Linked DNA regions of Homo sapiens: regions 2, 3, 4 and 5 are each linked to region 1. The links are contacts of gene promoters, found by promoter capture Hi-C in blood cells and fetal thymus (Javierre and others, 2016). All regions are on one chromosome and are shown on one strand. Each heading gives the region's core, a stretch centred on a gene start or on the middle of the fragment in contact. The rest is flanking DNA. Distances are from core to core; before and after follow the strand shown.

The links. Contacts are between HindIII fragments. The CHiCAGO score rates a contact against its expected background, and 5 or more counts as called.
Region 2: a contact is called between a fragment that was not itself captured here and the fragment with the promoter of POU1F1 in region 1, in 4 of 17 cell types (non-activated CD4 T cells, fetal thymus, total CD8 T cells and 1 more). The highest score is 8.0, in non-activated CD4 T cells.
Region 3: a fragment that was not itself captured here is called in contact with the fragment with the promoter of POU1F1 in region 1 in 5 of 17 cell types (non-activated CD4 T cells, M0 macrophages, monocytes and 2 more); the score reaches 7.2 in non-activated CD4 T cells.
Region 4: a contact is called between a fragment that was not itself captured here and the fragment with the promoter of POU1F1 in region 1, in 4 of 17 cell types (monocytes, naive B cells, total B cells and 1 more). The highest score is 7.5, in monocytes.
Region 5: a fragment that was not itself captured here is called in contact with the fragment with the promoter of POU1F1 in region 1 in 4 of 17 cell types (monocytes, M0 macrophages, total CD8 T cells and 1 more); the score reaches 7.7 in monocytes.

What each region holds. Positions count from the first base shown.
Region 1 is chr3:87,273,923-87,279,736 of GRCh38, forward strand. It overlaps POU1F1 (POU class 1 homeobox 1), which reads right to left and starts at 2,662. Exons shown (of 6, transcript NM_000306.4): 1 at 2,399-2,662. The coding sequence starts at 2,540. The HindIII fragment of the contact is 1,385 bases long and covers 2,526-3,910 here.
Region 2 is chr3:88,197,707-88,203,520 of GRCh38, forward strand. No RefSeq gene overlaps it. Among named protein-coding and RNA genes, the nearest start is that of C3orf38, 51 kb to the left of the region's middle. The HindIII fragment of the contact is 780 bases long and covers 2,502-3,281 here.
Region 3 is chr3:88,166,018-88,171,831 of GRCh38, forward strand. No RefSeq gene overlaps it. Among named protein-coding and RNA genes, the nearest start is that of C3orf38, 19 kb to the left of the region's middle. The HindIII fragment of the contact is 1,128 bases long and covers 1,666-2,793 here.
Region 4 is chr3:88,036,597-88,042,410 of GRCh38, forward strand. No RefSeq gene overlaps it. Among named protein-coding and RNA genes, the nearest start is that of CGGBP1, 20 kb to the right of the region's middle. The HindIII fragment of the contact is 6,499 bases long and covers 10-5,814 here.
Region 5 is chr3:87,976,763-87,982,576 of GRCh38, forward strand. All of the region lies in intron 2 of HTR1F (5-hydroxytryptamine receptor 1F), which reads left to right. Among named protein-coding and RNA genes, the nearest start is that of CGGBP1, 79 kb to the right of the region's middle. The HindIII fragment of the contact is 5,935 bases long and covers 1-5,277 here.

The sequences.
Region 1 (5,814 bases), core at 1,412-3,911:
ATTTGTCTAACAAATTTGTTTCATCAAAGTGGAAATGGCAGAGCAAGTAGCCTTTTATTAGATACAATCATAAAAATCTCACTGCATTCAGAGTGCTATTAAAAACCTGTAACAATATATGATCTATTTATTTTGATGTTGAAACCATGAGGTTGTTAGTTGTCTGCATATACACAATTGATACAACCATTCTAATGATAAAGCTGGTCAAAAAATGAGTTCATTCATTGAGTGACTTAATATCCATAAAGCCATAAAGCCGTACATAAACATAACCGTTCATAAATGGTTATATGCTTCAGGAAATCAATGTGTATTTTGGAAGTAAACTGGAATTATTAGACTTTTATCAAGTTTTAAACACAAATCATCAAGTTGATAGGGAGCACAAAATATTGACAATAAAACCAATATTTCCTTATATATTTTATTTTCTCAATTTTTTCCTTCATATTCTGAATATATTGGTTAATTTTCATAAATTAATTTTCTTGAATAAATGAGATATTATAAAGTATGGTTAGAATCCTTTGAGAATACCAATATACAAACTAGTGATTAAAGACATGCCTTTCTTCATAAAGTAAAATAAATTATTTTAAAATAGAGAAAAATCTTTAATTTTTAAAAATCTGTATACATTTTTATTTTATAATTAATAGCTCAAAAGAACTAAAGTCATTTTGCAATATAATGATTACATATAATGCATTACTGTGCATTCCAAAATTAAGCAAATTATCATTAAACATATTTAATACTCAAGTGTTCCCATTAAAGTCAGTGTTTCTATAATAGTTCCTTAGACAATTAGATGTATATGATTCAAATTTCATTAAAAAATTATAAATCAATGCTATTATCATTTAAAACATTTGTAGGTCACTTTTATTAATTATAATTCTTTTTTAATTTTAAGGCTTAAATAATTTTTGCTTTTCAGATTTTAGGAAGTTAAATACAGGATAGGCTAATTTACTAAATAAATTGTTACTTATTTTAAAGTAAATAAATGGCATTTTGAGTATAAAATTAGATTTTACTAGATTATTACCTCGATTCTGAATTGTATTTTCATGCTGGCCAAATTATCTTCAAACACAGAAATAGTGTATTATTCTCATTATTCTCAATCTATAGGATGACCTACTATTTAAAATATGTGATTAGCTATGTGGTAATTGCTTAGATTTATTTATAGCATATATTTTTGATAAAAACTATTGTGTCTTCCAAAAATTATGTTGGAGGATACTTCCTGTATTACCCTTTAAATTAAATTACAGAAATCTTTGGCGGATTCCTGAAATTTAATTTAAAAGGTAATATTGAAAAATCTCTACATTAAATGATTTTACCAAAGTCTAAATATCTGACCTCTAGATTCTTTAAAATCCACCAGAAGATTGGTGCCAAACTTACGCATGTATTTAGAAAATGCTTAATAATAACAAAAGATAGAGCTTAAATCCTTCAAATCAGAATAATGTATCAACTCAAACTTTGATTTCTAAATGTATATAATTTCATTCCTAAATATGAGAAAAATTGCATTTAAAACAAGTGGAAAGTGAATATTATATTGCTATTCAATGGAAGAAATTTACCCAATTCAAGTCTTTCTCCATTTGTAAATCAACTCTAAAACACTTTGTTACTGCATAAAGAATGAACACACTGGCAAAACATATGTATTTGGCTGATTGTGTTGAGCCTGTGAATTCTTAGGTTTAATTTTTGTTCTAAAAAGTTATGTGAGATAAATGTTAAAACTTAGAAGTGAAGTAAGTCTCTTCAGAATGCAATTTTGAGAAAATTTACCTTAGTTAATGGGCTTTAAATGTCATGTTATTTCTTGCTATAATTTCTGTATCTTATGCTAAAATATGTTAATTAAAACTCTATTTTATTCTATGAAATCCATTGTTGTTGATATTCAGATTGTTCTGTTGTGTTTAATATAAGGTTTATAGCTGTTTTTAGATAGTAAATGTAATTTAACAACCGAATAAACCTTTAAGATAAAGAAGTAGCACCTTTTAAATATTGTTATTTTATAATATTCATTTCATTTGCTCCTTATTCTATAAATATTTCCATTAAAAAGGTTTTTAGATTTAAAATGTCCAAGTTCATTCTTTTCTTATGTAGAAAACAGATTTTCTTCCTTACAACAAAGCCAACAGTGATTTTAAATTACTACACTTACTAATATTTCTTTAAAATTTATTTGGCATGTTGGCTTTTTAGATATGCTTAATGCTTACTTCACTTAAGACAAATTAAATTGGAGGGGTAAAATGAAAGATGCAAAGAGATTATTAACTATCAAGATTCAAAGCATTCATTCTGAAATATTTAGGCCCGGTCATATGTAAACTGTCATAGGAGTCAGTACCTGTAGACATCACATTGGTGGCATGGTTGGAGACTGGTAGACACTCGGCAGCACTGTGATGCATTATCAGAGGCAGAGTTGCAGAGGCGTCAGAATTCAGAGGTATAAAGGTATCAGCCGAAGTAAAAGCTTGGCAACTCATTCCCACAAGAGAGTAGAAAAATAAGGAGAACCGCTGCTCCCCAAATCAGAGTTTTATTATATTACTGTCTCAAAGGGCCGATTCAATTCTCACTACCTGCATATATACATCAGGAAGGCTCTGAGGCACCAGGAGGGTGCGCGCTAGTATTTATACTGCAAGGAAATCCCTTTATACATGTTAATAGTCTTTTCCCAGGAGTATTGCTTTATCAATCTGAACCGTCTTCCTTTTTTACCCCAAACATAATCCATGGCAGAGAAGGAAGCTGATTCTGGGGTATAGATGGAGGGGAAGGGAGAAATCTGAAACCTTATTTGACAACTTCAGTAGTTCAGACCTTTTAGAGAGGAATCAACAATTTTGAAAACACGTCCCTCAAAAAAATAATGCCACAATCAATTGAAAAATAGTAGGTATCTTTTTGCTACTAACACAATTGCAAATGTATAAATATGAGATTTTTTTAAACAACTTCTCATTAAATCTGCGATAAAACATGAAACAAAAGAAGTGCATAGTATTATACATAATTTTAAGAAACAATATTTAAGATTATGAGAGAAGCATATAATACTAAACATGAGAAAATATGTTGTCAATTAATGATTCATACTCAAAAATGCACAGCTTTTAAAAACGATGACAACCAATATAAGTTTTACTATATTATAAGTGAAAAATGGAAAAAAATTGGATAAAATGTAGTAATGATAGGTTGGTGCAAAAGTGATTGCATTAATGGCAAGAACCGCAACCACTACTGCACCAAAGTTAAATACAACTAAGATATGGGTAATTGTTATCTTTACCTCGATTTCAATTCACTCAAGAACCCAATATTTAGTAAGCTGTTACTAGATGCTGACAGTATTCTAGGTATTTATACAGTTACGTCATGCAAATCTCACAACATCTATGTGAGTTATGTACCTTGCCATTCTCACTAAGCTAGACTCTGTGCCACAAAGCCTGAGATAACCATGGTAGTTGCTAACTAGATGCAAACTTCTCACACAAAATATATTGACTTTATATGAGAATGAAAAAAATAATATGCTACAGCCAACTATTTCAAAGATAAATAACAGCATCAAAACTTTACAATGATCATGATTTATGAGTATGTAATGAGTAAATAAAATACTATTTATGTATTGTATATTAAGGTAATATAGCAAATAGAAGTAAGCGAACAGGAATAGATATTATTGATGTGAGTAGACACTAATTTTGTACTACGGAATGTTTTAAGATAATTTGGAATTGGTTGCTTTGTATCAAATTTCATGTTAATATTGATAAGACATTTTCAAAAACTTGAACACTTTGTCAGTAAGCAGCTGATATTTTGAAGGAAAATATGTAAAAGCTTGCCTAAATCATTAGATATGGAATGAAAATATTTATTCTAAAAATGACATATTTTTTCATTCTGAATTCTATATCTTTGAAGCTTTATTAGTCTTTTCTAATGAGAGAAAGTTTCAAGTAATCAAAAGCATTATTATACCCTTGCAGAATTCTGATCATTTTCAGACTTCACATATACAAAAAGGTGATTTTCAGTATGTCTATTTGGAGTTTCTGTTAAGAAAATTAAATAAAAGTGTGTTTATTGGGTATCATGTATGTTAAAAATTAAGCTAAATGATATTTATAGAAAATGTAATTTGAAAATGTCCCTTAATAATTTTACTATTGTTATATAAAGTCATTGGAATATGTTGGTAAAGTATGTGAAAAATATACTTTATGAAGTATACTGAAGATACTTTATGAAGTACCATAAAACCTGCCTAGCAAACAATATAAAATTTTCCCAGTTATTTACCATGATATCTAAAAAGTTTTAAATTGCAATCGTAGAATTTCTTCCATAATCATTTTTAAAAATTAAACACCTGTTCTGTTAAAATGAGGTAAAGCCAGGAAATAAATGTTTCCATTACAGTCTTCTACGATACAATATATCTATAGGATTATCTGGAATGTACCCCTTTAAGATAGATTCTTAGAAGTAGAATTACTAAGCTTAAGTCTTACAAACTTTTAACATCTTGAAAACATTACTAACTTGCATTTTCAAATAATTAATTATATTATGATTTTGATGTAAAATATCAGGAGTAAGTCAAGCAAAAAGAATTGTTTATTATCAGGAGACACAGGAGTTTCTTGGCACTCACAGAAAAGAAGGAAGTCAGGCCATAGAGACAGACTGAATAGAAAATGAGGGCACACCTCTCTGACTCTCCTACCTGCTTTTTTTTTTTTTTTTTGTCTCAAACTTTTTTCCTTCTCTATAGAACAGCCTAGGCTGATTCTCCATCCATGTTCACCTCAAAAATCTCTAGATCATGCCTTAAACTTTCAAGGAGGCAAACAGACTATCTTGTAGCTTCTCAGTCGACATTTATGATAATTTTTTTTTTTTTTTTGGGGAGTCTCACTCTGTCACCCAGGCTGGAGTGCAATGGCGTGATCTTGGCTCACTGCAAACTCTGCCTCCCATGTTCAAGAGATTCTTCTGCCTCAGCCTTCCAAGTAGCTGGGATTACAGGCGCTTGCCACCATACCTGGCTAATTTTTGTATTTTTTGTACAGATGGGATTTCACCATGTTGGCCAGGCTGGTCTCGAACTCCTGACCTCAAAAGATCCACCCGCCTCGGCCTCCCAAAGTGCTAGGATTACAGATGTGAGCCATGCGCTGGGCCGAGAGAAATACTCTTATTGGCTATAACTTTTTGGTAAGTTCCAGAAGTATAAAGATGGTTCCCAGTGGTCCACACTTATGAATGGGTAGGATAGTCCTGGATACATTCAGATGTTTGTAGACAAGGAGGGATAGAACATTGTCTTGGAAGACACCCTTAAAATATGACTGATGCTCTTATACCATCTTACACTAGCATTAGTGGTGTAAAATCCACAATTGTCTGGCATTCTCATTGTTAGTAATAATGTGTAAATATATATGCCTTATTAATCTGATAGGATAATATTTTAATATTTTAATCTGCATTTTTGATTGCTGATATGCTCTGTTTTCAGGTTTATATTTGCTATCTGTATTTATCGTTTTGTTAATTAACAGATTCTATATTTTATCCTTTTATTTAAAGGCCATTCAATTTTATTATCCATTTGTGTCTTTTACAAATACACTGAAAATTTTAATTTTCATTGCTCTGATCATTGTATGATTAAAATTTTCTTAATGTCTCATCTTTTAAATTTATGCTGGACCTTGGTATACATAGTATTTTATG
Region 2 (5,814 bases), core at 1,642-4,141, 920 kb after region 1:
AATTGTCAGAAAGCACAAAGTAAATTGTTAGCAATAAGTTTAAATATATTGTTAGTTATGATAAGATAAATAGACTGAATTTCAAGTTAACATAAAGAGATTGTCAGACTTAATAGAAAAAATTTTAGCTGTTAGTACCACTCATGATCCGTATGAAAAAAAAAAACATCTCAACTCCTATAGCAAACACTTCAATATATATGGTTTAACAAACTAAATGTGAAAAATAAAATTTTTAGTCTCTTAGAAGAAAATAAAGGAGTAAATAAAAGACAAGAAATATAAGTATTTTTAAAATTAGGCAAAACAGCATAATCACAAGAAAAATCAGCATTTTAAAAATTAGACAAAGAAGCATAAATCAAAAGGGAAATATTGTTAAATTTACAACACATGTGTAAAATGATTCAATTTGTATGAAGGATAATTAGACACTCAATAAATATTAACTATCTTAAAGTAAATTAAAACAAAGACCAGGTCCAAAGAATCCCTGAACAAATAAAGCCCAAGTTCTCATAATTGACCTGAACTTTGCCTGCTTTGCAAATGTAAGAGAAACTTAACTTGGGCTATTTATTGTAATTGCTTTTATTAGGAAAAACAAAACTTAAGCTTAACCAACCAGAAGCAGCCAACTAGCTTATGTTACTAGGGACTTTCCAACGGGATAGAACAAATAAGGAAACTTTGTAACTGTAACTCATCAAAAGTTTCTTTAAGTCTATATTCTTTATAAACTTAATAAATCCTTTAAAATCCTTAATAAAGACTTTAAAATCTTGTCTTGAACACTTCTTCAACAGAGCACAACACTTCTTTCAGTTTGGAGCTGCCTGATTCATAAATAACTGTTTGCCAAAATAGACTCTTAATTTTTTTTTTTTTTTTTTTTTTTTGAGACAGATTCTCGCTCTGTCGCCCAGGCTGGAGTGCAGTGGCGCGATCTCGGCTCACTGCAACCTCTGCCTCCCGGATTCAAGTGATTCTCCTGCCTCAGTCTCCCGAGCAGCTGGGACTACAGGCACGCGCCACCACGCCCAGTTAATTTTTGTATTTTTAGTAGAAACCGGGTTTCACCATACTGACCAGGCTGGTCTCGAGCTCCTGACCTCGTGATCCACCCGCCTCGGCCTCCCGAAGTGCTGGGATTACAGGGTTGAGCAACCCCGCCCGCCCGATTCTTTAACATTATTGCACTTCAGTTTACCTTTTAACAGCAATAATAGTATTATTTTAAAAAATTGTATGTATCTGAAGAAAACATAATAAAATAATTACAAAGATAAGCCAAGATTAAATGAAGATATTTGAAAGTATAAAAGTGATAGCATCCAGAACTTTAAAAACCTCTTAAAATATATGTAAGAAAAAGACAACACAATGGAAAAGTTGGTAAAATATAAGAACAAGAGTATATAGAAGAAGAAAGAAGTGACTAATAAGCTCCTTTGACTATATATATAATCTGTAAAGTATAAATTAAAACTACAGTGAGAAACAAGTTGTATCACTCAGATAAACAAAAATTCAGAAGCCAGGAAAATACCAAGTTTTGGTGAAAAAGGGAAGCAATGGGAACAGTTTTCTGATGTTAGAAATGAATACTGAAAGACATCTTACAACTCAGTAATTTATCATCTAGTTATATAAACTCAGAAAAAACTCTGAAATGATGCACAAAGAAATAATTTTAGTGATATTGTTTGTAATAGAAAAAAGCGGAAGTAATTGAAATATCCATCAACAAAGTTTCTCTGTGTAGTTGTGTATAAGAAGTATGAAGAGGAATTTGTGTAGCAAATAAAGAATTTAAATTGTATACTATGACAGTGGAATACTCTCTATTAGTAAAAATAAAAGAGTTAGGATTACATGTATCAGCAAGGTTTAATGTTGAGTTAATCATCTCCCTGCCCCATCCCTCCTAAAATCCTCCTAAGCTGTAAGGTAACATAGATAACATGACATCATTTCAACAAGTTAAAAAAATTATATTTATAATTTTTATTATTTATAAATTTTATTTTTTAAATTTATAAATTAAAAATAATATATTAAAATATATTATTTAGGGTATATATGTAAACAGCAAAATTATAAAGAATTCACATGAATGGAAAATATCAAAATTATGGTCATGTTTACCTCTATGAAAGAGGGAGAGAAATTATTTTGGGGAAGGGTACACTGAGATCCCCAACTATGTTTTAAATTCTTTATTTGTTAGTTATATTCCACTCTGTAAAATATTTCAAAATATGTTTTATTAGTGACTATTAGAGTTGGGTGGTGGATAGGGAGGCCAACTTTGGCTGGAGGGAATCAAGGAAGACAACAGGCTGGTCAAGGAAGCAAAGAGATGAAGCTGCCTTCACGCAGAGATGGGCGTGAAGAGGCACGACATGGTAAAGAGGCACCATGAGCTTCTGCCTTTGAGTAAACTCAAAGAATGTGAGAATGGCCCAGTTCCACTGGAACATGGAGACTGGTAGAGAATAAGCTTTCAGAAAAGCCTTTAAGTATTAGGGTTTTCTGTTTTGTTCATATACAATGGGAAGACATTTAGGGATTTTTAGCATAGAATTACATGAATTGGTTTGTGATTTAAAAATACTTAAATGATATCAAGTAAGTCAAGCCTTGAGATATAACAATGCTGAGTCTGGTATGATGCACACTTAGGGAACTACTACAATATTCCAGGCAAGAGACAATGGAGAGGTAACCATGGCTAGAATGATGGCACCAAAAAGCGGGAAAGAAAAGATGGGAGTGAGAAATAGAAATAGTATTGAGATAAGAACAAGAAAGATCAGGGTGTGGGAAAGACATGAGTGTTAGTCTGTTTTGCAGTGCCATGCAGGAATACCCGAGGCTGGGTACTCTATATATTAAAAAAAGAGTTCTTTGGCTCATAGTTCTACAGCCTATACAGGAAACATAGTGCTGGCATCTGTTTCTGGTGACAGCCTCAGGAAGTTTCCAGTCATAGCTGAAGTCAAAGGGGCAGCGAGTGTATTACTTGGCAAGAGAGAACACAAGAGAGAAAGGAGGGAGGTCCCAGTCTCAAAACAATCAGCTCTCTTGTGAACTAACAGAGTGAGAACTCGTTCATTACCATGGGAAGGCACCAAGCCATTCATGAACAATCCAGTCCCATAACCCAAATATCTCCCACCAGGCCCCACTTTCAACACTGGGGATCTCATTTCAATATGAGATTTGGAGGGGACATACATCCAAACTATAACAGCATATAAGATTCTTAGATAACTCTAAGCTTTTGAGGTGAAATGGTGGAATAGTTACAGTGTTAATAGAAACAAATATCTGGATACACTGGTTTTGAAAAGAAAGATAATGAGTTAAGCTTTAAACATGAGTTTGGTACAATCCCAACAGAGATACTGAGAAAGTAACTGAGAACCATGTATCTGCTCAATGGTGATATTAGAAGTTATATAGTTATAATTCCATCCAAAGGAAAAATGAAGAAAATACTGGTGGGAATAGAACCTTCTGGAATGATTATCTTTAATGATTTGTAGGTCGCTGGTACTTATTGAGAGAGTGGTTTTAACAGAATGTGGTGTGCCGTTAAAAAGTACTCGAGTTCTAGGTATAACTTAGTTTCGAAACAGTATTTCTAAGGCTATTTTAATTAATTGTGACATTTGGTTCCAATTTTTGATTGTTTTTTACTTCCCTTCCTATTTATCACTCTTTCAGAGATTTTTCTCACCTCCTGGGCATTTACCAAACAATTGTTTCCAGAAATAGTCACAGGATGAATGAACTGTATTCAAACAGTCTAGTTTCATTTTTTCCATTGACAGAGGCATCTTCCAAAGTTTCTGGGTTTTAGATACGACTTTGCTACAGTGATTTTAGTGATAATGCCTAATATGTTTATTTATTTTAGCTACGTCCGTTGAATTAATGGAATTAGTTTACTTTTTTCTTTTTAACTAGTCATCAGTCTTTCAAGCACATAATGTAGCTAGTCCCGCAGATACAACAATATCACTTGGTATTTCATGTACTGAAGTCCTTTATCTGGAACATTTATATGATCTAATTCATGTCTTTACAGACATGCTTTCTCCTTAAAGTAGTGCTCTAAAATTGTCGTAATGAATCCTAAATATTTGGCATTTAGTTTAAACATTTTTATTTGCTCAGTTATAGGCCAGGTGCAGTAGCTGACCCCTGTAATCCCAGCACTTAGGGAGGCTGAGGCAGGAGGATCACTTGAGCCCAAGAGTTTGAGACCAGCTTTGTCAACATAGCAAGAACTAGTCTCTACAAAATATTAAAATATTAGCTGGGTGTGGTGGTGTGCATCTGTAGTCCCAGCTACTCAGGAGGCTGAGGTGGGAGGATCGCTTGAGCCTGGGAGGTCAAGGCTGCAGTGAGCTATGATGGCACGACTTTGCCCCAGCTTGGATGACAAAGTGAGACCCTGTCTCAAATAAATAAATAAAATAAAAGATGAAAATATATATTTGCTCAATTACGATGTTCACATGCAGAATAATCATAAAATCTTAAATCTAGAAGAGGCTTTGGAGAAAATTAATGCACATCATTTGACACAGGAGGAATAAGAATCTCAGAAACATTAGGAGACTAGGTAAAAGTCACATGGCATGTTAACACATGGTACATGATTGAATGTTATATAGTTACAAGGACAAACACATAAGTTACTTGCCTATTTCAGTCATTCTAAATACTAGATTTTCATTATGGACATCATATTAGGAACTGATGAGAAATCATCAAGCGATAACATTGTTCTTGTCCTCTAGAACACACATACCTGGGGAAAATCTTTGCTGTGCCATCTGTAGAATCTAACATAGAGACTGGGCATGGTGGCTCACACCTGTAATCCCAGCACTTTGGGAGGCTGAGATGGGTGGATCTCTTGAGGCCAGGAGTTTGAGACCAGTCTGGCCAACATGGTGAAACCATGTCTCTACTAAAAATACAAAAATTAGCCAGGCGTGGTGGAGCACACCTGTAACTCCAGCTACTTGAGACACTGAGGCAGGAGAATTGCTTGAACCCAGGAGGCAGAGGCTGCAGTGAGCCGAGATGGCACCACTATACTCCAGCATGGGTGACAGAGAGACTTTGTCTCAACAACAACAACAACAAGAAAAAGAATCTAACATAGAAAGTTGTCAGTGCTGGATGAAGGAAAAATGATTAAATGATTTTCATCAATGAAATGCCTTTTCTTCATTACATGATAAGATTAGCAACAGAAAAGCCAATCAAGGGATTTTATAGATTAATATATTTGAAATAAAGCAGTTAAACCCATCATCAAGTGCCAGTTGCTGTGAGAGTTCACTTCAAACAAAATAAATTGCTGCCATTTTATTGTCAAAAAGGCATGATAGGAGGATTGGAAAATTCAGCTGTTTTCCCCCCTTTTTTCTTCATTTAGGAAATGACTATACTTCTCACTCAATGCCAGAAAAAGAGGGTTATCTACAAAGGCACCTTGAAGCTAGTATATATGAAAACAGTAAATCTTAGATATTCAATCTAATGGCACAAGGTTTTGAAAAATACTGCATACGATTTAAACTTAACTCAGATTAGCATCTTAGGTTATTGAAGATCAGATAAATTTGGGGGGAAGTAAGTAATGGTTAATAAAGGAACTTAGTGCTAGAATAGCGGAAGAGAGATGTAGTATCGTTTCCCGTTGTACAGTGTAGTTTTCATTTTTTTTCCTTCTAAATAATTTATTTTAATTGAAAAATTGCTTTTGGTTATGTGTGGGATAAAAGGTAT
Region 3 (5,814 bases), core at 980-3,479, 890 kb after region 1:
ACGGATTCTTGTTCCGTCACCCAGGCTGGAGTGCAGTGGCACAAGCTCGGCTCACTGCAACCTCCGCCTCCCAGGATCAAGCGATTCTCCTGCCTCAGCCTCCTGAGTAGCTGGGATTACAGGCATGCTCCACCATGCCCGGCTAATTTTTGTATTTTTAGTAGAGACAGGGTTTCACCATGTTGGCCAGGCTGGTCTCAAACTCCTGACCTTGTGATCCACCCGCCTTGGCCTCCCAGAGTGCTGTGATTACAGCTGTGAGCCTCCGTGCCCAGGCCAGTGTTCTCTCTTAAATGTGTTTCAATATGGTGGACATTTATTGAGCACTTGTGTTGGGCGTTTCAACAGGAGGCACTGGTACGAAAAGTAGCTTGTTCTAGTTCATATATCATTTGCACTTTGCTTAACTTGTATAAGTACTTTTTACTGTTTAATAAATATTTTATTAGAAAATACTTCTCTGATCTCTCATTGATGCCCTTCTTACTATTTTAACCATTGTCATCTTTGGACATCTGTCTGAATTGTGGGTAAGACCTTAACCTTTGGAGTAGAGAGCAATGCTGCTTACAAAATAATGATTGTTGGTAGTCTGTTCAACAGATTTGCAATTTCAAAAAGAAAAAAATGCAACTTTTTCCCACATCTTTCACATATATTTTGCAAATCTTATGCACATAATTCACATATTTTGCACATTTTAAATGTAAGATGATTTGCATGACAATCCCCTTAAGTTTTTAAGTGTTAGTTTATTGTAGATGCTTATGTACACAGTGAAGACTGTAGGTCAGTTTTAACCTCAGCCAACATGAGGTTAACCGGATGTTCACCTTACTAATGTTCTTTCGTATTAATTTTAATGCTTGTTAAATTTACATTTTATATTTGATACTCATTTTCCCAATTCACAAAATTGGCTTATTGAAAAATGATGAAAATAGTAACAAATATCATTCGTAAAAATGCTCCAATGGAAATAACTTCAGTGTGAATACAGAATGAGAAAATGTATGTGCTTTTGGCCGGGCACGTGGCTCACACCTGTAATCCCAGCACTTGGGGAGGCCTAGGTGAGTGGATCACCTAAGGTCAGGAGTTCAAGATCAGCCTGGCCAATATGGTGAAAACCCATCTCTACTAAAAATACGAAAATTAGTCAGGCATGGTGGCAGTCTCCTGTAGTCCCAGCTATTGGGGAGGCTGAGGCAGGAGAATCTCTTGAACCCGGAGGGCGGAGATTGCAGTGAGCAGAGATTGCGCCACTGCACTCCAGCGTGAGCAACAGAGTGAGACTCTGTCTCGCAAAAAAAAAAAAAAAAAGTATGTGCTTTAGAAGAGATTCTGTGTGTATGATGTTTTCAGACATCAGCTGATACAGATAAGGAAGGATAATGACTATCTGAACTTATTTTTTTTTGGCCTGCATTCCATTCACCATTGGTCAGTACATTGCCTGTCAAATATCTACATGTCACCATCAAAGTTATCACATCATTTTTAAAGTACATTAATTTCTCTGGTAATGCATTTAGTTAGGTAATTACTTCACGTCTCAGTTTAAAATTTGTCATGCAATATTATGGATGAATCCAAAATTACAGAAACATCACCCAGAGTTGTATTCCTTTAAACAAAGTACAAAATAAGACATTGTTGCTGAGAAGCTTGTAAAAAGTGTTAGCAGTAATAACAAATATAATCAGGGGGAACAAATGCTATTGGAAAAGTATTGTTGATAAATTACATAATTCAGTGACAATGTGGAAGAACAATTCCTATGATTTGCCTTCTAGATGGTATTATTCAGACAAAACCACTGCTGTACAGTGTATGAATCATATGATGTGTGTTACATATATCAGTGAGAAGTCCGTAAAAACTTACTCTGTTTATCCCTGGAAACCTTTGAATATAGACAATGAGGCTATGCTGGGAAGTAAGTTTTGATGTGGACTAGAAAGGGTGAATCATGACTTTTAATGCTGGAGCACCAGCTATTTGAGCAGTAGCGAAGGTGATTGTAAATGAAAGGACTATACAAGAAAGCCAATCAACACATCCCTTTCTTAAAACACAGCAGTTAATTATCAACCGTAAACCATTCTAATGGTGATTTAGTGTTGAAGGGGCTAGAAAACACAAATTTTGATCTCTTGAGTCCAGTTTTATAATGCCATATGAAAAACTGGACAGGAAGTTACAAAACTTCTTCCTACAATACTGCCTATATAGAGGAAAAGTATTCACGTGAAATTTTTGAGATAAGGACATAAATTTAAAACATTTCCTTGAGATGGTGTTAATGTTAGTAAAGGGCTTTTCCTTGATTGTAGATACCTTGCGCAAGTGGCCTATCAGCTAATCCAGTGTCTTGAAGAGCCATCACTCCAAGTCTTACGTGAATTTTAGTGGCAAAGAGATCTGATTATTTTAAGATTACACAACTCTCGTGCAAAGGCTCAGTCTTATAGAGCTTCATTTTTTCCCCCATCGTCTCATTATTTTTGCTTACCACAGAAACATAAGGTATGTGGGGGCTTATTTAAAACTGTATCTAAATACAGCATAAAAACAATATAATAACATGAAAGAATGCTTCCCTGAGTTGAATGCAAAGGACAGATTGGGAACCCATTTAACATCATCTACAGGTAGATTTTTTGGTGACCTGAGTGAAAAGTTTATTTTGAGAGAAAGTATGTAACCAAAAAAAAAAAAAAGGTACATGTGGATCAGTGAAAACAAGAATGTAAACCACATGTTTATTCTTAGAATAGCAGAAGAGTGGCAAGCTTCCTTTTTTGTTTTTTTGTTTGTTGTTGTTGTTTTGAGACGGAGTCTCACTCTTCTGCCCAGGCTGGAGTGAAGGGGCACGATCTCGTCTCACTGCAACCTCCACCCACTGGGTTCAAGTGATTCTCCTGCCTCAGCCTCCCAAGTAGCTGGGATTACAGGCGCCTGCCACCATGCCCAGCTAATTTTTTTTTTTTTTTTTTTGTATTTTTAGTAGAAATTGGGTTTTGCCATGTTGGCCAGGCTGGTCTCAAACTCCTGACCTCAGGTGATCCACTCGCCTCAGCCTCCCAAAGTGCTAGGATTACAGGCATGAGCCACTGCGCCTGGTGCAAACTTCCTTTCTTTATGAATATATTACTGTAATATAGAACAACATTGTAGGAAAAGTAAAGCTGCTCGTTTACCATTTTTATAAAGGTTCAAGCAAGTTGTACACTAAAAGCTTAATGCTGACCTGACTTTATATTTTATATGACTTCTTTAAAAAACAAACAAACAATAATCACCTTTTTACACAAGCAATTGAACTGGAATTGTGTACTTCTGCTTTTTAGAAACCATTCGGCCGGGCGAGGTGGCTCACGCCTGTAATCCCAACACTTTGGGAGGCCGAGGCTGGTGGATCACAAGGTCAGGAGATCTAGACCATCCTGGCTAACATGGTGACACCCTGTTTGTACTAAAAATACAAAAAAAATTAGCCGGGCGTGGTGGCGGGCGCCTGTAGTCCCAGCTACTCGGGAGGCTGAGGCAGGAGAATGGCGTGAACCTGGGAGGCGGAGCTTGCAGTAAGCCAAGATCGCGCCACTGCACTCCAGCCTGGGTGACGGAATGAGACTCCATCTCAAAAAAAAAAAAAAAGAAACCATTCAGTGCCCCATATTTTGTGTCTTTTCATCACTACTGTGCTATGGCAATTTAGTCAGTGATCACTGTCTCCTTTTACTTTCCACCCAAACAAGAATCCGTTTGAAACATTTTCAGTACTGGAATAAAAAAAATTTTTTTAAATATTTTATTTTGTTTACTTTCTATGAATTACAATTGCTAACATTTTTTAAATGCCATGTCATCTGTCAGTGGTCAGTCTTCTAGAAGTGTGTAAAGACATGTTTTTGCACAATATATTTTGGGAGAAGGGGAGATTTTCATCAAATAATGTTTGTATTTTTTGTATTCACTATCATAATTAGTAAATGTATAAATATGTTATATTTCTTCTATACCTAAATTGAGATGGCTTGCTGCAATGTCTTTCTTCATTTTATAGGTTAGTCTTTCTGAGGCTGACACTTTTGAAGCTCTTGGACTTGCACATTAGGGAAAGTCCCAAGAGATGTACACAAATACCTTTAAAATAGCCTTCTGGACTCGATTGTTAGATTTCGCAGAGTAATGGTGAAGTTAAAGAGATTAACATGTTTTTCCATTAAATGTATTTTTCTTTTTATAAGTTCATATTTAAGAGCATTCAGAGTGTTTTCAGAAAATTCTGTATAGTGCAAATTTTAATAATAACTATGACTGTTTAAAAAATTACTATTTGTAGCTGGGTGTGGTGGCTCACACCTGTAATCCCAGCACTTTGGGAGGCTGGGGGGTGGGGGGGGGGTGGATCATGAGGTCAGGAGTTCGAGACCAGCCTGGCCAACATGGTGAAACCCCGTCTCTACTAAAGATACAAAAAATTATCTGGCATGGTGGCAGGCGCCTGTAATCCCAGCTACTCGGGAGGCTGAGGCAGGAGAATTGCTTGAACCCGGGAGGTGGAGGTTGCAATGAGCTGAGATCGCGCCAGTGAACTCCAGCCTGGGTGACTGGGCGAGACTCAGTCTCAAAAAAAAAAAAAAAATTACTATTTGCAGATGTGAGAATGTACGTATATATATACACATGTACACACGCATACACACACACATATATATTTTGAATTTTGTGCTATGTGCATATATTATCTGGTCAGAACAGATACAGGTATAAACAAATAATGAAGGCAGTTGTTAGTGTATAATCAACCTTACCCAATGAGAGGTCTGACCTTTGCCCCTAGCTCTAGGCTCTTGTAATGTTCTGCAACATAAGAGTGTCACTCCTCAGGGCTTTGGCTGTGGGACAGTCTAACAATGTGATTTATGATAGGTTTTGGGCTGTGCCATATCAATTTTTACCTACCTCCAGAGGAACTTGAGTTCAAAGCTATTAGCCCAACTTCTGGGAGGAACTGTAGACTAAAGTTCAGCCACACAAACAATAAATAGGTGATCAAGCCCTAATAAAAACTCTGAACACCAAAGGCTGGGATAAGTATTGTCCCACATTGTGACTGGAAAGAGATAAAGCCATCTATGACTCCATGGGAGAGGGACTGGAAGCTCCACATTGGACCCCTGCTAGACTCTGTCCTATATTCCTGTGATGCTTAATTTTAGGAGTCAACTTGACTGGATTCAGGGATACCCAGATAGCTGGTGAAGCATTATTTCTCGGTATGTTTGTAAGGGTGTTTCCAGAAGAGACTGGCATTTGAATCAGTGGACTGAGTATGGAAGATCTACCCTGATGTAATGTGGGCAGGCACCATCCAATTGTCTGAGGGCCTGGATAGATCAAAAAGGCAGAAGAAAGGCAATTTGCTCACTTTGTCTCATCTGGAGTTGAGACACCCAGCTTCTCTTGCTCTTGGACATCAGAACTCCAAGTTCTCCAGCCTTTTGGCATCAGGATGTGCACTAGTGCCCCTTGGTTCTCAGGCTTTTTGGATTTGAACCAAGCCATGCTACCAACTTCCCTCATTCTCCAGGTTGGGACTTCTCAGCCTCCATAATCATGTAAGCTAATTCCTCTAACAAATCCTCTGCCATATTTATCTATCATTTATCTATCCTATTGGTGGTCCTGTTTCTCTGAAGAATCCTAATACCAGGAGTGATTCTAGAGGAACAGAACTGTAAGGATGAGCTTCCTAAATTGGTTTTGGGACTTCTGGAATTGGCTCTCTAGTGTGATTATATTTAA
Region 4 (5,814 bases), core at 2,009-4,508, 760 kb after region 1:
CTTTCTGGAAGCTTTTATAAATTTATTTGAGTCCTAATAGTTCTGAAATTTCACAAATAATTGTCTAAGGCAAAAGTTTCTTTTGTTTGTTTTTGTCTTAACATTTAGAGCTCTCTGAAATCTCAATACTTGTGGTTTAGGGGATTATGGGAAATTTTTCTCAGTTACATATTTGTTTATCTATCCCCCTCATTTCCCCCCTTTTTTTTTTTTTTGTCTTCTTGGTACTACTAACTGATAGCGTTATGTATGGAGAGTTGTTCCTTCTTTTTTTTTTACTTTTTTTTTCTTATGGTAGCCATCTCTTTGCCATTTGCTCTATAGTTTGGGGGAGTTCTGTAACTTTATTTTCCAAATCTTCCACTGGTATTGACTGTTTCTTAAATTTTACTTTTTTTAATTTGTAAGAACTATGTTTTCCTCTGATTGCCACCTTGTCATTGCTGTCTGTTCTTATTTTGTGGATATTTTATCCTACTCTATGACACCTTCTCTGAAGATAGTCAATTCAGTTTTTAAATGTTCTCTTATGGTTACTTGGATCATCTAATTGCCCATGTTAGTGAATGCCTTTGGTTTTGTCAAACATGTGGTAAACTATTTGACTGATGCTCTAAGTTGATGAGTGAAGGTTCTGTTATGGATTGAATTGTGTCACCCAAAAAGATACTTTGAAATCCTAGACCCCATCCCAGAGAAAGTGACTTTATTTGGAAATACAGTCTTTGCAGATGTAATCAAGTTAAGATGAGGTCATTAGGGTGGCCCTAATTCTATATGACTGGGGTCCCCTATAAAAAGGGAGATTTAGGTCCACATACAGAGGGAGAATGCCACGTGCCAACAGAGGCTGAGATTGAATTCCTGCAACTAGAAACCAAGGAACATCAAAGATTGCCCACAAACCACCAGAAGCTAGGAAGAGGCAAGGAAGGATTCTGCCCTACAGGCTTCAGAGAAGAATGACCCTGCTGCACCTTGATTTCAAACTTATAATCTTTAGAACAGTGGGAAAATATAATTGTGTTGCTTTAAGCCACCTAGTTTGTAGTGCCCTGTTACAGTAGCCCTGGGAAGCTGATACAAGTGGATTTCCTGGGTTTCATTTGCAGCTGTGTGAGTCCTTTTCCTCCCAATCTTCTCCCCTGAATAGAAGAACTTTGTAAGTGAGGCAGTACTCAAAAGTCTACATAGGTGAAGAGCAAACAAACCAAAACAAACAAACAAACAAACAAAAAAAACAAGGCTATGCCTCCCCATCCTCCAGAAGGAAGGCTTTACTTGAGTGATGCATGAGTCAGGGTTTTATTCAGGGCTCACTCGCATTAGGGAGGGCAATCTTCTTTTCTCAGTCCACCAATTCAAGTGTGAATTTCATCCTAAAACACCTGCATAGACACACCCAGAATAAAGTTTGACCAAATAGCTGGCCACCCCATGACCTACTCAATTCACACATAAAACTATCATAAACCTACCCCTTGTCAACTTGGTACCCATATACGTGTCCTTAAACCATACTCAATCTCAAAAAAGACAACAAGGTCGTATTTCCTCCTATCATAATAAAACTATTCTGTGTACAACCAGAAACACACTAACATTTTAGAAGAGGAGATAAAGTCCTGAAATGATGTTAACTCTTCTCCCTGATGTCCTGTAACTTACATACAATGATGTAAAGTCAACACATCTTATTTTACATGATGAGGGGGGATGAGGGAAGAAAACAAAAATATTTGCTTTATCCATCTATCTACACACACACACACACACACACACACACATTTGTAACAAAATAAGGAGAAAATATTCATTACAATTATAGTCCTCATTTTGCATTTCTGTAACTGGCCATTTGGCTATAGCTGGTATTTTTGACTACCTTCTTTCACTACTTAATCTGTATTCCCTTTGCCTTCAGCAAAAACTTAAGCAGCCATAATTCTTTACATAGTGGGTAGCCCAAGTTTTCCTTCCTGAAAAGTCTGAGCTATTAATAGCCCTGCCTGAATTGGATCGTTGCAGTTTTACATTGGCCTTAATCACAGAGCATAGCAGTAATAACAGACACCCTAAGGGACCTCTTGTAGACTAGACATACTCATCCTTACCACCATTGTTGTGTAATGGTTCTATTCCCCTTGGTAGTCAGGATCAGTCACCCCCATCAGAACACTAACTCCCTTCTTTGCCTGGTGATTCATAGGCATGAGGAGCCCAAAGGGCCCAAGAGGCAGTCTTAACTTCCAGTTAAATGGACTCACTGTGTCTCGTGGTGGAAGCATTCCTTTCTTTGGAACTAAGACTTCTAGACCAGCAGAAGATAAGGCTGAGGAATCAGGAAGCAAAAATTTTGCTAGTGGGTCATTAGGGGTACCAGTGAATGGTGCTTCTCCCATTTTCAGCCCTTGATTCTGGGACTCATGAATCCTGGCCATGGGAGAAACAGCACCATGTATTGAATGCTGATCCAAAGCATACAAAGCCTTCTGAAGAGCCTTGTCCTAGCCTTGAAAGATAATGCCACCTAGCTGGTTCTGGAACTCTGTCTTTAGAAGGTCATTTCACCACTCTGTTAAGACAGCTTCTTGCAGATGATGAAAAATATGGTAATACTAGGGAATGCATGAGCATGCGCCAATTGCCGTACTTTATTTGCTGTAAGTTGAGTTCTTTGATGAAAACAAATGCTGTATAGAATACTATTATGGTGTATAAGACATGCTGTAAGTTCACAGATGATAGATTGGGTAGAAACAGTGTGTGCAGGGAAGGCAAATCCATATCAAGAGTGTCTATTCTGGTAAGAACAAGATGTTGCCCCTTCTATGATGGAAGAGGTCCAATGTAACCTGCCACTAGACAGCTGGGTGACCACCCCAGGCAATTGTGCCTGTTAGTGTTAGTCTCTGCCACTGGCAGACTGCGAACTCAGTGGTGGCTATAGCCACGTTGGCCTTGGTTGGTGGGATTTTATGCTACTGAACCCATACATAACCTCCATCCTGCTGAAACAGGAGAGTTCCCTGAACCCCTCATGGGACGTGCGACCAAGGTGTGGTTCATTTGTTCGGCCACCATGCACTCAAACCCCTTATGGGAGGAGGAGCATGCAGGTGAGCAGGTGCAGAGGCCAGGGCAAGTGTTTTTGGGATCCAGCCTCACAGCAGTGTTTAGGGGTGTTACAGTGGTCTTTTAGCCCTGCCATTGGGGACAGTTTAAGTGTTAAACAGCTCAGTAAAAAGGCAGTGTGACAGCCTTTTTGGGTTCCCACACCCAATACATCCCAAATTCTTGTCTTGCATCCAGAAAGAATCAGATCACTTGGACTTGAAGGATGGTAAATGTGGGGATTTTATTGAGTGATGGAGGTGGGGAACTGGAGAGGGAATGGAGTGGGAAGATGATCTTCCCTTGGAGTTTGGCCGTCCCCTGGCCAATCCCCTCTCCAACTGCCCCCAGCCGAACTCCTCTTGATGTTCAGATGCTTTCTCTCTTCTCTACTTCTCTGCCACACCACTCTGCTGCTTTCTGCTCATGGATCCTGGGGTTTGGGGTTTATATGGACAGAGGATAGGGGGCTGTGGTGGGCCAAAGGCAATGTCTGGGGCAAAAACAGGAATGCCTGTTCTTATTTAGGGCCACAGGTCTAGGCTTGAGGGTGGGGCCCTTGCCAGGGACCCTGCCCTCCTCCCACCTGCCTGTATCACTGCCACCATGGCCGCTTTTTTCATGAGCCCACTGGACAATGACAGGGATGGTTGGGGAGAGGCTGATTAGTATCCACAGAACAGGCCATCCTGTCTACTTAACTCCTAAAATCCTCCTCTGCTGAGGTCGCATGTTGGTGAACATTCCCATGGGATACAAATATCTCCACGTTTTTTGCCTATTTAAAGTGGTCTATCCACATATCCTTTCCTCAGATTTCCTTGTCACCAATTTTCGAATCATGTTCCTTCCAAGTCCCTCACCATTTAGCCAAATCACAGGCCGTAGCCCATGAATCAGCATATAATTGCATGTCTGGCCATTCAAAGTGAAAAACCAGGTGCACTGCTCAACATTCTGCACATTAAGATTTCCCTTCATCTTGGTCCTTCATAGCCTCCAGGAAAGGGCTGTATTGCTGCAGCTGTTCACTTTGGGCTAGTGCCTGCATATTATGCGAAACTATCTGTAAACCATACCTGAATCTTATCTTCCTCCACCAAGTGAATGTAGAGAACTTCCAGTGAGGCCATAGGTGCAGGCTGGGAGAGAGAAGGTAATGTAGCAGGTAGGGAGACCGTGAGCATTTTGACCACTTATTCATGTAAGATACTTATACCTGATTTAAATATTTATCACTTCTATTGGATGATGGAGTGCTACTGTTCACACCTAACTTTATGGCTAAGTAGATCAGATATCACTCCATTCATGATGGGCCACTCAGCTCATACGGTAACTTAGTGGTTGCCCATGGCTAAACAGTCAGCCTCTGCTAAGACTTAATAGCAAGCCAAGAGCTATTTCTCAAAAACAGAGTAGTTACCTGCAAAGGATAGCAGTGCTTTGCTCTAAATCCTAAGGGCCTACACTGTGACTCACCTCTAGGGGCCTGCCAAGGGCTCCAAATGGCTTCCCTATCTGCTGCAGACACTTCCAACACCACTGGATTGCAGGATCATATGGCCCTGGCAAAGAAGTTGCAAGGCAGCCTGGATCTGTGGCAGAACCTCCTTTTGTTCTGAGTCTCAGACAAAACTGGCTGTTTTTCCGATCATTCACTAGATGGGCTGGAGTAACATATCGAAATAAGGAATGTATTGCTTTCAAAATCCAAAGAGGCCCACGAAGCACTGTGGCTTTTTTTTTTTTTTTTTTTGTAGGAGGGGCCATAAGCAACAACTTATCCTCCATCTTAGAAGGAATATCTTGGCATATTCCACACCAATAGACCCTGAGGAATGTCATTGAGGTGGAAGATCACTATTTTTCCCCTATTTTGTTTGTCTTTTGTTTTCTTGACTTTATGGGCCTTCAATTTGTGTCCGATTTATTTCTCTGACATACAAATGTCTTACCAATACATCTAGGGTGGTGGCTACTTCTTGGCCACTAGGTCCAATTAACATACTATCATGGACCAGTGTGATCCCTTATAAAAGGGCAAGACAATAAAATGTCTGTGAACAAAATTATGACATATGGCTGGAGAGCTGAGAGACCCGAGAGGTAGGATCATGAAGATATATTTCTGGCTTTGGCAGCTAAAAGCAAACTGCTTCAAATGGTCTTTATTGACAGGTATGAAGGAAAAAGCACTTTTCAGATCAAGTACCAGGGGATGTGTTCATTTGCTCAAGAAATTAAACCACATCTGGTATAGCAGTTGCAATTGGAGTAACCACCTGGTGAGGCTTACAATAATCCACTGTCATTTTGAAAGGTCCATCTGTCCTCTGCACAGGCCAAATAGATAAGTTGAATGGTGATGTGGTGGGAATCACCACCTCTACGTCTTTCAAGTCCTTGAATGGGGGCACTGATCTCTGCAATCCCTTTAGGAATGTGCTCTGGCTTTTGTTTTATTGTATCCCTAGGTAGACGTAATTCTACTTGGCCTTTGCCACCGGAATAGCCCACACTCCACAGGTCAGGGCACCAATGTGGGGATTCTGTCAGCTGTTGAGTATATTTATGCCAATGATGCTTTCTGGAACTGAAGGAACAACCATGGGCTAGGCTTAGGGACTCACTGGACTCACTGTGAGATGGACCTCAACTAAAACTCCATTGATTACCTGAACTCCATAGGCCTGATTC
Region 5 (5,814 bases), core at 1,060-3,559, 700 kb after region 1:
TCATATCTTGCACGTAGTTAAATATCAACTTTTTAGTAACTTTCCAGTAAGGGCACAGAATATCCAGATTCTTTGTCTAGTTCCTGGTGATAACCACTTACATAATACATTATTATATCCAATGTCACTATGGTGTGAAGTATTTGCCTTGCTTATTACTCAAGGAGAGGGAAGGGTAGTCAAGGCGGAGGAAAAGATCATGACCATAAACTTTCAAAATTTCCATCTCTAGCTTGCTAACATATTACCTGTTTTTCATTTTAACTTACATAATAGGAGAATATACCATTCCTCATGTATGGTAATTGTACATTATTTCCTCCCACCATCCCCTTACATATTGTAGAATTAGAAAACTTGATATTAGACAGTGATGGTACTATGGATCCCATCAAAGGAAGACTGGGGTAAAAATTGAAATGCTTTTTACCCAGCTAGACTTATTTCATAACTATTATCAACATTAACCACAATCCTAAAGGTAGAGTTGCTAGCCCTATACTCCAGATGACAAATAATAATATTAAGTTTTTTAGAAGCCAGGTACCTAACAGATTTATATGTAATCTTCAACAACCCTTCATAATGTTTGACATTTATTTTTTCCCTCTACAGATAATGAAGCTGAGACTTTTTTTTTTTTTTTTTTTTTTTGAGACGGAGTCTCACTCTGTCGCCCAGGCTGGAGTGCAGTGGCTTGATCTCAGCTCACTGCAAACTCCACCTCCCGGGTCCACGCCATTCTCCTGCCTCAGCCTCCTGAGTAGCTGGGACTACAGGCACCCGCCAGCACGCCCAGCTAATTTTTTTCTTTTTTTTTTTTCTTTTTTTTTGTATTTTTAGTAGAGACAAGGTTCACCTTGTTAGCCAGGATGGTCTCGATCTCCTGACCTCATGATCCGCCCACCTTGGCCTCCCAAAGTGCTGGGATTACAGGCATGAGCCACTGCTCCCCACCAAAGCTGAGTCTTTTAAAGCTGAAATGACTTTCCTGAGCTCACACACACTATTATGTGGGGGAGTCACTTTAAATGAATTTTTCTTGAAATCTAGTGTCACAGGATCCTTAAGGTGTCACTTTTCCAGCCACAAGCCAATGTGGCTAGTGGCACCTTTGCCTTAGTTTTACTCAGACCCACTGGACTTGTTCTTCCCACTCATCCTGGAAGTCTGCACTTAGCTCATGCTACTGGCCCAGATCCCATGCTTGCCAAGGGTGAGCTAGATGCATAGAGGCAAGAGGTATGTGAGTGAGTGAGTGCAGGGTCCAGCCATTGCACACAGCCAGGCAAGCTGGCAGCTGCAGAGGGGCGGGCAGCTCCAGGAGCTGGCATAGGTGCCAGCTTCATGCAAGCCTGCAGCTGGATTAGATGCACCACAAGCAGGTTCCATTGTGGGCACCCACCTCTGGATGAGGGGAACATGGTGGCACTCAGAAGGTTGAAGACTCCAGAAATCGCAGAGACCCCAAAGAGGGTGTCATCTCGAGTGCACCACTCCCTGAGCTCCCAGAAGGGCCGCAGCTCTTCTTTCCTTCTCATCACCCACAACTTGATGAGTCGGGGAGCTGTGTTTCAGTCCTGTTTGTGTTACAGCTCTTTCATTTGACAGGTCCTGAGTTCTTGGAAGTTCAGGAAGAATGATAACTAGAGAGTGAGCAAGGTGAAGGGCTGCTTTATTGAGCAACAGTACAGCTCTCAGTACAGTACAGCTCTCAGTACAGTACAGCAACAGTACAGCTCTCAGGAGACCCAGAGTGGTTAGCTCCCATCCACAGGCAGGTTGTCTGTGGCCCTCAGGGGAGAAGAGACCCAGTACCTCCTATTTGCAGGCAGGTCATCCTGACATTTGTGGAGCCCTCAGCAGAGAGGAGTCCAGGAGTGGATAGCTCCTTTCCCCAGGCAGGTCATCCCAATGTCTCTGTGAGTCTGGCTGAGTCCAGGATTTTTATAGGCTTCAGAAGGGAAGAAGTGAGTGCTGATTGGTTTATGGGTGGGCCTAGAAGGAGAGAGGGAGAGAGGGAAAGAAAGAGAGAGATGGGAAAGACTGAAGGTCCTATTGCTGCACCCTAATGGGCAATCAGGGACTGGAGTGGAAAGAAGGATGGAAGGAAGGGAGGGAGGGAGGGAGGAAGGAAGGAAGGAAGGAAGGAAGGAAGGAAGGAAGGAAGGAAAAGAGAGAGATGGGAAAGACTGAGGGTCCTAGTGCTACACCCTAATGGGCAATCAGGGACTGGAGGGGAAGGAAGGGAGGGAAGGAGGGAGGGAGGGAGGGAGGGGGGGAGGGAGGGAGGGAGGGGGGGGAGGGAGGGAGGGGGGGAGGAAGGAAGGAAGGAAGGAAGGAAGGGAGGAAGGAAGGGAGGGAGGGAGGGAGGGAGGGAGGGAGATGGGAAAGACTGAGGGTCTTAGTGCTACACCCTAATCGGCAGTCAGGGACTGAAGTCAGTCCAGGGGCCTTTGGATAATACCAAGGAGTAGCCTCAGCCAGATACCTTCAGTTGCCCCAGGACCTCCTTCCAATCCACACAACCGCTAGACCTCCATGAAGGGAAACTGGATTGGAACAAAGCCCACATTCCCAACACCAGAGGGTGATGGGGGATTGACAGTGTTCTCCCTGGCAAGCCTGTCCTCTGTGTCCTAAGTCCGGCAGCCACGATAGTCATTTCTAGTTGGCCGACAGAGACCCAGTATTTTCCTTTCATTCTGTTGACTGTGGAGTTTAGGGACTCTGAAAAATGAACAGAAAGCAGCAAATCCACTAGTACTCACCCTTCCACAGATCCTGGATGAGCCCCTAAAAATGTCACAAGATCCTTAGGTTGTCACTTTTCCAGTCAGAAGCCTCTGTGGCCAGTAGCACCTTTGCCTGAATTTTACTCGGCCCACTGGGCTTGTTCTGCCCACTCAGCCTGGCAGGCTGCTCTCAGTTTGGCTGCCAGCCAAGACCCCATGCCTTCCAAGGCATGGAGTGGAGCAGCAAGGGGTGCATGAGCAAGTGAGCATGGGATCCAGTTACTGCACATAGCCAGGCGCGCTGGCTGCTGTGGCAGGTCAGGCAGCCCCAGGTGCCACCTCTGTGCAACCCTGCAGCTGAATCAGATGCTCTGCAAGCAGCTTCTGCTGTGGGCGCCCATATCTAAATGAGGAGAATGCAGTAGCACCTGGAAGCATGAAGATGCCAGGAACTGCAGAGCCCCGAAGAGAGTGCCTCAGCCCTGGTTCAGGGAGCCCTTACATCTGTGTTCCTGGAAAGGCCACAACTCTTCTCTCCTCATTGCCCACACTGTGGCAAGCAGCAGGGTGTGTTTCAGCCCTGTTTGTGTTACAGCTCTTTCAGTTCTGCCATTCAGTGGGTCCCAAATTCTTGTCCTGCTTCAAGGAAGAGTGAGGTACATGGACAACTGGAGAGTGAACAAGGCAAAGGAATGCTTTATTGAGCAATATTACAGCTCTCAGGCTACCTGGAGTGGGTAGCTCCTATCTGCAGGCAGTCATCCTGATGACATCTCTCCACCCCTCAGCAGAGCGGAGACCTGGAGTGGGTAGCTTCTACCTGTAGTCAGGTCATCCCAACATCTGTGCAGCCCTCAGTGGAGAGGAGACCCAGAGTGGGTAGCTCCTATCCATGGGCAGGTCATCTTGTCATCTTTCCAAATCTGGCTAAGTCCAGGGTTTTTATGGGCTTCAGAAGGGAGGAAGTGCATGCTGACTGGTCCATGAGCAGCCATGGGTGGGCCTGGAAAAAGCACCATAAGTTTTCATGCCTGGCTATGGAACAGGCAGCCCAGGCTCCAGGCTTCAGACCATCCCTGGCTTGAACATGGGGTTTCACTGGGGGCTTGCTCCTTTCCACCCAGGAGCCTGTCTGCCTCCTGCCACCATCAATTACATCATCCATGGTGCTCAGGCTGTACTGAGGGGCATCTGCAGGCCTGCACCTAGCTGCCCTCAGTCCCCCCTCGGCCTCTCTCCCATTCTTGTCAGTGCCCAAAGTCCAGAGGATGCCAAGGCGGCAGGGGGCTGTCATATCATCACTGCTTCAAGCACACACACAACACTCGGGCTCGGCTTCAACTTTGCTCCTAAATGAGAGTGGGTGCTGGGAGTGGGGAGAGATCAGGCAGCAAGAGTAGGCACTTCTGAACCTGCAGGGGCAGGGAGGGTTCCCATGACCCTGAGAGCATAGGAATGTCCAGGTCCACAGCTGTAGCTGGGGGGCTGCTGCTGCACCTGGGGGGGTGGGGCTCCCACCCCACCAACTCAGAAGGGTGCAGGGTTCTCACCTGTTCCCAGCTCCCGCCAGCTCCCTGAAGTGCACAGCCCAGCCTTCACCTCACCTGCCACAGCTGGTCTGTTTGCAGCAACCTCTCCAGATGGGCCACCACTACCATCACTAGCACTTACGGGTTTGTTTTATGTTTTGGGTTTTTTTGTTTGTTTGTTTTTTGGAGATGGAGTCTTACTCTGTCACCCAGGCTGGAGTGCAGTGGTGCAATCTCAGCTTACTGCAACCTCCACCTCCCAGGTTCAAGCAATTCACCTGCCTCAGCCTCCTGAGTAGCTGGGACTACAGCCACACACTGCCATACCCGGCTAATTTTTTGTATTTTAGTAAAGACAGGGTTTCACCGTGTTGCCCACGCTAGTCTCGAACTCTTGAGCTCAAGCAATCTGCCCACCTCAGCCTCCCAAAGTGCTAGGATTACAGGTGTGAGCCACCATGCCTGGCCGCAATTGTGGGTTTTATTCACAGTAGTTGGTAGTCTCTTAATTAATTGAAGTCATAATCTCAGGAATAAACATCAGTTTCTATTACCTTCACAACTCCACTTCTGCCATATCTCCCCACCCTTCCTTTACATTCCACCCCACACACTCAACTTCTTTTCTCTTTAGGTTTCAGCAACAGTCAAACAAAGCAAATAGTACAACCTACTGAGTCTGTACATGTGTATTTCCTCTCTTTTCCATAGCAGGTGCTCCTGTAGCTGGTTTCAGTGTGTTCATTGAATGTGGTGTCATTTTCTCTAAGATTGTCATTGTTGCAATTTAATTATTTTCTCAAGTGTGGCAGACTAACAAGCAGATGTCTCTTGAAAACAATAACCAGATCCATTTAAGCAATGAGGTGTGCGTATATGTAAATTCCATTTAAAATAAGAATGCCTTCTTCTTTCTTTTTTTTTTATGTCTCACTCTGGCCTGTCACCCAGGCTAGAGTTCAGTGGCAGATCTCAGCTCACTGCAACTCCACCTCAAGCAGTTCTCATGTCCAAGCTTTCCGAGTAGCTGGGATTACAGGCAACTGCCACCACACCTGGCTAATTTTTGTATTTTTAATAGAGATGGGGTTTCACCTTTTTGACCAGACGGGTCTCAAATTCCTGACCTCAAGTGATCCACCCACCTTGGCCTCCCAAAATACTGGGATTACAGGCATAAGCCACTGTGCCCTGCCCTTTCTAAATATTTTTAAATATCGAGATATTTTTAAATATCTCAGATATTTTCTACATATCTAAGCTAGAGAAAGGGACTTCTAAAAATCTTAAGGGTGTTGCCCCACAGCCCTAATAGTCTAAGAATAGTCTGAAATAGTCTGAAAAAGAAGAAAGTCTGTCTTGGAAAGAATTATGCATATGACATTTGGGGCACGTAGTGACTGTCAATCCGATTCATAGGGAGACACAAAGTTTTGAAGAAAACTATACTAACTTGGACTAAAAGGGAAAGAGCTCAAAATGAAAAGACTTTCTGTAGGCAGAAAGCAGGCTAAGAAGGCTACTTAGCTATAATCCAGACTACTTTCCAG